2 separate regions of the Homo sapiens genome follow, and region 1 is linked to region 2. Evidence: promoter capture Hi-C in 16 types of primary human blood cells and fetal thymus (Javierre and others, 2016). All regions are on one chromosome and are shown on one strand. Each heading gives the region's core, a stretch centred on a gene start or on the middle of the fragment in contact. The rest is flanking DNA. Distances are from core to core; before and after follow the strand shown.

Region 1 (4,374 bases), core at 783-3,282, 220 kb before region 2:
CTGGGAAATGCATCATTAGGTAATTTTGTCAAGCAAACATCATAGAGTATACTTACACTAACCTGGACAGTATAGCCTACTACACACCTAGACTATATGGTATAGTCTGTGGTTCCTGGGCCATAAACTTGTGCAGCATGTCACTGTACTGAATACTATAACTGTAGACAATTATAACACAGTGGTAAATTTTCGTGTATCTAAACATAGAAAAGATACAGTTAAAATATGATATAAAAGATTAGAAAATAGGCCAGGCATGGTGGTGTGCACCTGTAATTCCAGGTACTCAGGCTGAGGTAGGAGGATCACTTGAGATCAGGAGTTCTAGGCTGTAGTGTGCTATGAGCACATCTATGAATAGGCACTGCGTTCCAGCCTGGGCAACATAGTGAGGCCCCATCTCTTAAAAGGGCACACGTGTATAGGACAGCTCCATTATAATCTTATGGGACCACTGTAATATGTGTAATCCATTGTTGACTGGAACATCCTTATGCAGCACATGACTGTGTACATAACTTAAAATTTATCATTTAAACCATTTTTAAGTGTACAATTCGGTGGTATAAAGTACATTTACATTATTGTGTAACTATCACCTCTATCCATCTCCCTAACTTTTTCATCATCCTAAACAAGCTCTGCCCATTAAACAATATCACCTCATGCCCATAGCCCTTGGTAACCATTGTTCTACTTTTTGACTCTATGAATTTGTGTACTCCAGGTACCTCGTATAAATGGAATTATGTAATATTTGTCTTTGTGTCTGGCTCATTTCTCTTAGCATGATGTCTTCAAGATTCATCCATGTCATAGCATGTATCAGAATTTCATTTGTTTTAAGGCTGAAAAATATTCCTTCGTATGTTTATACCATATTGTTTAATCATCTTTTGATAGATGGGTTGTTTCCATCTTTCTGCTTTTGGGAATAGTGCCACCATGAATATGAGTATGCAAATGTCTGTTTGAGTGCCACATTCAATTCTTTTGTGTATGTACCCAGAAGTGGAATTGCTAGTAATTTGATAATTACCAAATTTCATTTGGTAATTCTATGCTTAATATTTTGAGAAACCACCATACTATTTTCCACAGTGGCTATACCATTTTACATTACCACCAGCAATGCACAAGGGTTCCAGTTTCTCCACATCCTTGCCAACATTTACTATTTTCTGTTTTCTTATTGATTGATTTTTATTTATGTTGAGCCAGGGTCTCACTCTGTCACCAAGACTGGAATGCAATGGCCCGACCACAGCTCACTGTAGCCTTGACCTCCCGGGCTTAAGTGTTCCTTCCCACCTCAGTCTCTCGAGTAGCTGGGAGTACAGGTGTGCACTGCCATGCCTGGCTAATTTTTGTATATTTTGTAGAGATGAGGTCTCTCCATTAGCCCAGGAGGGTCTCAAACTCCTGAGCTCCGCCAGCCTTGGCCTCCCAAAGTGCTGGGATTACAGGTGTGAGCCATTGTTCCTGGTCCCGTTTTCTTTTTTTTTTCTTTTTTCTTTCTTTCTTTTTTTTTTTTTTGAGACAGAGTGTTGCTCTGTTGCCTAGGCTAGAGTGCAGTGGCGCGATCTCGGCTCACTGCAACCTCTCCCTCCTGGGTTTAAGCGATTCTCCTGCCTTAGCCTCCCAAGTAGCTGGGACTATGGGCACCCGCCACCACGCCCGGCTAATTTTCGTATTTTCAGTAGAGACGGGGTTTCGCCCTATTGGCCAGGCTGGTCTCGAACTCCTGACTTTGTGATCTGCCCGCCTCGGCCTCCCAAAGTGCTGGGATTACAGGCGTGAGCCACTGCACCCGGCCTGCTTGTGCCTGGCCCTGTTTTCTAACACAAAAAAATCGATTATTTTTAAAATAAAATCTCTAATAGGGTGGTATTTCACTGTGGTTTTGATTTGTATTTCCCTGGTGATGGGTGACATTGTGCATCTTTTCTTTTTCTCTTCTTTTCTTTCTTTCTTTCTTTTTTTTTTTTTTTTGGAGACAAGATTTTGCTTTGGCACCCAGGCTGGAGTGTAGTGTCACAATCATGCCTCACTGCAGCCTCGACCTCCTGGGCTAAAATGATCCTCCCACCTCAGCCTCTCCAGTAGCTGGGACCACAGGCATGTACCACCATGTTCAGCTGATTTTCTTTTCTCCTTCTGTTTCTTTTTTTTTTGAGACAGAGTTTCGCCCTTGTTGCCCAGGCTGGAGTGCAATGGCGCTATCTCTGCTCACTGCAACCTCTGCCTCCCAGGTTGAAGCGATTCTGCCTCAGCCTCCCAAGTAGCTGGGATTACAGGCATGCGCCACCATGTCCAGCTAATTTTGTATTTACAGTAGAGATGGGGTTTCTCCATGTTGACCAGGCTGGTCTCGAACTCCCAACCTCAGGTGATCCGCCCACCTCAGCCTCCCAAAGTGCTGGGATTACAGGCATGAGCCACTGTGCCTTGCCTCTTTTTTTTTATATTTTGTAGAGACATGTTGCCCAGGCTGGTCTCCAACTCTGGGTTCAAGCAACGTCCAGGCTGGTCTCCAACTCCTGGGCTCGAGCAATACTCCTGCCTCAGCCTCCCAAAGTGCTGGGATTACGTATGTTGAGCCATCATGCCCGGCTGAGCATCTTTTCATGTGACCATTTTTGTATCTTCTTTGAAGAAATGTCTACTTATGTCTTTTATCTTTTTAATTGGGTTTTTGTTGTTGCTTAGTTGTAGGAGTTCTTTATATCAATCCTTTATCAGCTATGTGATTTGCAAATTTTTTTTTATTCCGTGGTTTGCCTTTTTACTTTTTGATAGTGTGCTTTGATGTACACAGTTTTGTTTTTATTTTATTTTATTTTATTTTATGTTATGTTATTTTAAGATGGAGTCTTGCTCTGCCCAGGCTGGAGTGCAGTGGCCCAATCTCGGCTCACTGCAACCTCCGCCTCCTGGGTTCAAGCTATTCTCCTGCCTCAGTCTCCTGAATAGCTGGGATTACAGGCATGCGCCACCATGCCTGGCTAATTTTTGTATTTTTAGTAGAGACGGGTTTTCACCATGTTGGCCAGGCTGGCCTTGAACTCCTGACCTCGTGATCTGCCTGCCTTCCAAAGTGCTGGGATTCCAGATGTGAGCCACCGCGCCCTGCCCAGAGTTTTTAATTTTGATGAAATCCAACTTACCTTTTCTTTTGTTGCTTCTGCTTTTGGTATTATGTCCAAGAAATCATTGCCAAATTCAATATCATGAAGTTTTTCCCATATATTTTCTCCTACGAGTTTTATGGTTTTAGCTCATTTGTTTAGGTCTTTGATCCATTTTGAGTTTTTTCTTCTTTCTTTCTTTCTCTTTCTTTCTTTCTTTCTTTCTTTCTTTCTTTCTTTCTTTCTTTCTTTCTTTCTTTCTTTCTCTTTCTTTCTCTTTTCTTTTCTTTTCTTTTCTTTTTTTTGTGACAGAGTTTCTCTCTTGTTGCCCGGGCTAGAGTGCAATGGTGTAATCTCGGGCTCACTGCAACCTCCACCACCTCCTGGGTTCGAGCAATTCTCTGGCCTCAGCCTCCCGAGTAGATGGGATTACAGGCACCTGCCACCACGCCCAGCTAATTTTTGTATTTTTAGTAGAGACAGGGTTTCACTGGTCAGGCTGGTCTTGAACTCTTGACCTCAGGTGATCCGCCTGCCTTGGCCTCCCAAAGTGCTGGGATTATAGGCGTTAGCCACCATGCCTGACCCCTGAGTTAACTTTTCTATATGGTATAAGGCAGTGGTCCCCAACCTTTTTGGCACCAGGATTCAGTTTTGTGGAAAGCAATTTTTCCATGGACGGGGGTGGGGTGGGTGGGGGGGTTGGTTTCGGGATGAAACCATTTCATCTCAGATGATCATCAGGCATTAGATTCTCATAAGGAACGCACAACCTAGATCCCTCACATGCACAGTTCATTTTTTTTTGTTTTTTTGTTTTTTTTTTTGAGACAGAGTCTCGCTCTGTCACCCAGGCTGGAGTGCAGTGGTGCAGTCTCGGCTCACTGGAAGCTCCGCCTCCCAGGTTCACGCCATTCTCCTGCCTCAGCCTCCCAAGTAGCTGGAACTATAGGCGCTCACCACCACGCCTGGCTAATTTTTTGTATTTTTAGTAGAGATGGGGTTTCACCATGTTAGCCAGGATGGTCTCGATCTCCCGACCTCGTGATCTGCCAGCCTCGGCCTCCCAAAGTGCTGGGATTACAGGCGTCAGCCACCGCACCAGGCTGGAAGACAGTCTTATATAATGTAACATAGTTATGGGAGTAGCATCCTGTATAACCTTTGCCATATTCTGTTGGTTAGAAGTAAGTCACAGGACCCACCTACATTCATGGGGGAAGTAATTACACAAAGGTGTGAA
Region 2 (4,454 bases), core at 1,916-4,415:
CCTGCCTCAGCCTCCGGAGTAGCTGAGATTACAAGTGCCCACCACCACGACTGGCTAATTTTTGTATTTTTGGTAGAGACAGGTTTTCACCATGTTGGCCAAGCTGGTCTTGAACTCCTGACCTCAGGTGATCTGCCTGTCTCAGCTTCCCAAAGTGCTGGGATTACAGGTGTGAGCCACCACGCCCGGTAGAAAATGATTTCTAGCTGATAATTTTATACCCAGCCAAACTATATTAAGGATAAAGGTTTTCAGACAAGCACAGTCTCAAAAATTTTACCTGATCATGCATAAAACTGAGGGGAAAAAAGCCCCAACAACAAGAAGTAGCAATACAAACGTTATTTAGAGACATGAGCATAGGCATCAAAATAATCAGCTGAAAGATGTAAAAGTGGTTGTTTCTAGGGAAGAAGTCAGGTGGAAGGGAAAAAGGGGCCTGCTCTTTTTATTTATTTATTTTTTATTTTATTTTTATGATTGTTTATTGAGATGGAGTCTCGCTCTGTTACCCAGGCTGGAGTGCAGTGGCATGATCTCGGCTCACTGCAACCTCCACCTCCCAGGTTCAAGCGATTCTCCTGCCTCAGTCTCCAGAGTAGCTGGGATTACAGGCATGCGCCACCATGCCCAGCTAATTTTTGTATTTTTAGTAGAAATGGGGTTTTACCATGGTGGTCAGGCTGGTCTTGAACTCCTGACTCAGGGGATCTGCTTACCTGGGACTCCCAAAATACTGGGATTACAGGCATGAGCCACCACGCCTGGCTGAGGCCTGCTCTTTTAACTGTGAATGTATAACTGATAAAAATATAAAAATAGAAGACAGAGAAGAAACAGTTTTAAAAAGAAAGATAACATACTGACGTGACTTTTGAGGATTATGGTGAAGATATCCAAAGAAGATGTATGACAACAAGATTTTGAGATGCTTATGAAAACTAGTGAAAGAGTGGTCAAAGTGTAAACGGACTTTTTGGTTTTTTTAAATCCTCCTCTCTTCACCAATCCCTTGGCTTGCTCTCTTTGATGTAAGAACCTGGCTAGGCTTTCTGGAAGTAGACTCCTTGAAGTTGGCAAAAATAACAACAACAACAACAACAAAACAAAATAACCCCCCAAAACAAAAAGAAAAACAAAAAACCCCAAAACCAAAAATATCTCCGAAACCAAAAAATACCCCGCAACCAAAAAACCCCAAACCAAAACCAAACCAAACCAAAACCCAAACTGAACAAACCCAAAAATCACCAACAGAAAGAGGTATGCTAGAAGAGGTGGCATGTGCTTTCCTAAATATAGAATTGGGGGATGTTGGGAAAAGTATTGGAGGAAGGATATGGAAAGTATCCTAAAAGTGAAAGGACCAATGATGTCTGGGAAATAGCAAGTAGTCCAACTATTTGGTGGCTAGCAGTGATTCTCAAACTTTGCAGCATGTTATAGTCTTTTAAAAATCCTGATGTGGCTGGGTGTGGTGGCTTGCACCTATAATTCCAGCACTTGGGGAAGCCTAAGTGGGTGGATCACTTGAGGTCATGGGTTTGAGACCAGCCTGTCTAACATGGTGAAACCCCGCCTCTACTAAAAATCTAAAAAATTCAGCCGGGCAAGGCGGCGGGCACCTGTAATCCCAGTTACTCAGGAGGCTGAGGCAGGAGAATCACCTGAACAACAGAGTGAGACTGTCTCAAAACAAAAACAAAAACAAAAATTCCTGACGCCCATGTCAATTAGACAATTTGGGAGTAAAAGCCAAACATACGCATATTTTTGGGTTTTTTTTTTTTTTTTTGTATTTTTAGTAGAGATGGGGTTTCTCCATGTTGGTCTGGCTGGTCTCAAACTCCCGACCTCAGGTGATCCGCCTGCCTCAGGCTTCCAAAGTGCTGGGATTACGGGTGTGAGCCACCCGCCCGGCCTTGTTTTTGTTTTTAAGCTCCCCAGGTGATTCTATTGTGTAACTAAGGTTGGGAAGCACTGCAGTATAGAGTTTGCATGAGGAAGCTAAGATTGGAAATGTGGGGCAAGATTGTGAAGAAGAATCTCAAATGCCCGGGTACCTAACCTGATCTCTAGGAGACAATGGAGTGCCACTGATGGCTTTTGAACTGTACGTGATTCATCCTGATGTTTGGGGAAGATCAATGCACAGAAATCTCTGTGAGATTCTAGAAGCAAGGAGACCACTAGCTAGACTGAGACTAGTTCACAACGCAGAATGACCAGTGGAGAGAAGTATACTGTGTGCCTTAGGTGTGTCCACGTGTTACCAAAGCCTCTCTGTTTCGCTGAAATGTGTGGTCCCCCTCACTAAAGCTCTGGTGGTGTCCTCCCTGCCACCAGGCAGCCTGGTGTGGTGGTCCCCCAGAAGGATGGGCGAACCACCGGGATGCAGTGTAGGCCGAACCTTGCCCCAGGGGAGGGCGGCGGGCTTAGCTCTCTGATTGGGTGGATTCTCTGGTGTGTAGGAAAGTACTCCCAGGCCCAGAGAAGCTGTGAAGACCAAACCGGCTCCCTAGGCCGAGAACCGCTGGGGAGGTAGCAGCCAGAGGTGGTCCTCTCCGACCCACTACTCTGTCGATCATCACTGGGGAGGTGGAAAGACAAGGCAAGATCCTCATTTTGTTGCCTGCTCAGGCCTGTGCGCACTTACTCTCCATGGACACGACGGTGAGCGTGGAGCAGCCCGCGGTCTCGCTGCCCCCTTCACTCCCGGACCCCCAGCCTCCCCAGAGTGGAGGGGCAAGCACACAGTAAGTACTTGATATTCGCCCGACTCCTGAGCTCCTCATCTGTAGGAGCTAGGGGGCTTGTTCTCCGTACGTCCTTTGTTGGAGGGAGGAACGAGGGAAGGAGAAAACCCACGCTGAGGCCGTTGGCCGATCACTTTCTTTACCTCCCGGACAACATTGATGGGCCCCACTAAGGAAAGCCGAATTCTCGCATGCCCGAGGAGTGTCGGAGGTGGTTGTGCGCCTAGTCCCTCCTGGTAAAGGGTTCGAAGCACTCGTTTATTCAAAGGCGGCCGAGAGCCATACCATTTGCTTGCATGACGGGAGACACCGAAACGCCCCTTTTGAACGCGATGACAAACACCTCCTCCCACTCAGCAGCGACGTGCACGTGACAGTTTTTGGGCTCTCGCAACTACGTGGAAACTTGGAATAGGTCTGCGGCTGCACACCGCCCGGACGCCGGGGTTCCTGCGTCCCCCGCCCCCTCTGATCGCGGCTGGGTAGCCGAGCCGCAGGCAGCTGGGGGCCCCCGAACGCCGCCTCTGCATCGCGCCGCCCCTGCCCCGGGCTCCGGTAGCTTTCGGGCTTCCGCACTGCCCGCCGCGCCCTGCCCACAGGGAAGCGCTTCCCCAGGCGGCGGCGGTCCTGGTGCGGACCCTCCGGCCGCAGCCATGTGGGACCCGCGGGCAGCTAGGTGCGTAGCGGCGCGGGAAGCACTGGGGCATCTCTGGCCTTCCGGGCCCGCCACCCTTCCTGGCGGGAGGCGGCCGCGCGCGGGGACTGGCGACCCTGAGGTAGCGGCCGAACGGGCCCGCCCGGCCATCCCTGTGGGGCCCACAGCCATCTAGGTGCAGACCCGAGCCAGTTGCGCGGGGTCGGTCGCGGGGGACGGCTTCGGCCTTTTCGGTCCGGAGGGACCAGGGCACGCGCTGCGACAGGACTGCGGCGGCGCGCGGCCTGCCTAGCTCCCACCCCGGCATCGAAGCCGCAGCTCTCGGGCCCACCTCCGCATCCTCAGGGGTTCCCGGGGGCTGCCGACAGGTTCCTGACCAGCGAGCGCGCCCCCGGGGCAAGCATTCTTGGCGGGCAGAAACCTGGGAGCGGAGCACAGCGGTGCAAGGGAACCGTGCCAGGCGGGAAGGGCGGAATTTGCGGGGAACTTGGAGCGCGCTGGCCTCTTCCCGGCAGTAGGAGGCCTTCTTCCCTGCCCGCCCGATTGAGGGCTGCTGGGCTGGCTCAAACTGGACTGCACGGTCCATCAGCCTGGGCTCACCGAGTCTAGGGGGAAGGTAGTAGTAGGGACCCAAGGCTGGGAAGCGGAGCCCTTAGAAGCCCTTGCTTCTGCCTCGGAGCGTTTCCGAACCGGAGCTCGGAGTCTGTTGCCTGGGAGGCGCGTTGCGTTTCCTCCCAACTCCCTGTCTCCGTCCCGCGGGGAGCCCTGTGCACTTGCAACCCGGCTGAGATAGAGCCCATCTTTGAGGTGCAGCTCAAGCCACCTTTTCTCCCAGATCGGGGTGTTTCTGGGCAGTTGAAAGCTTTGGTGCTTCCTAGGAAAATTTTTATGGAAGTGTGCAATTTGGAAAATAAAAGAAAAAAAAATTTAAGAAGCAGAAAGAGAATGGGGCTCTGAGGTCTCTAGTTCCCCTATCTGCTCCAACCCAGTTGCTGCTGGCTCAGTTAGTCCTTATGCGGGAAGGAATAGCTGGGATTAAAGCC

What was found. Contacts are between HindIII fragments. The CHiCAGO score rates a contact against its expected background, and 5 or more counts as called.
Region 1: a fragment that was not itself captured here is called in contact with the fragment with the promoter of TRANK1 in region 2 in 1 of 17 cell types (neutrophils); the score reaches 6.7 in neutrophils.

The regions. Positions count from the first base shown.
Region 1 is chr3:37,164,819-37,169,192 of GRCh38, reverse strand. The region is part of intron 1 of LRRFIP2 (LRR binding FLII interacting protein 2); the gene reads left to right. Among named protein-coding and RNA genes, the nearest start is that of LRRFIP2, 7.6 kb to the left of the region's middle. The HindIII fragment of the contact is 8,372 bases long and covers 1-4,374 here.
Region 2 is chr3:36,943,765-36,948,218 of GRCh38, reverse strand. It overlaps TRANK1 (tetratricopeptide repeat and ankyrin repeat containing 1), which reads left to right and starts at 3,165. Exons shown (of 24, transcript NM_001329998.2): 1 at 3,165-3,432. The coding sequence starts at 3,410. RefSeq lists an enhancer at 2,998-3,067 and a silencer at 3,298-3,517. The HindIII fragment of the contact is 7,723 bases long and covers 1-4,275 here.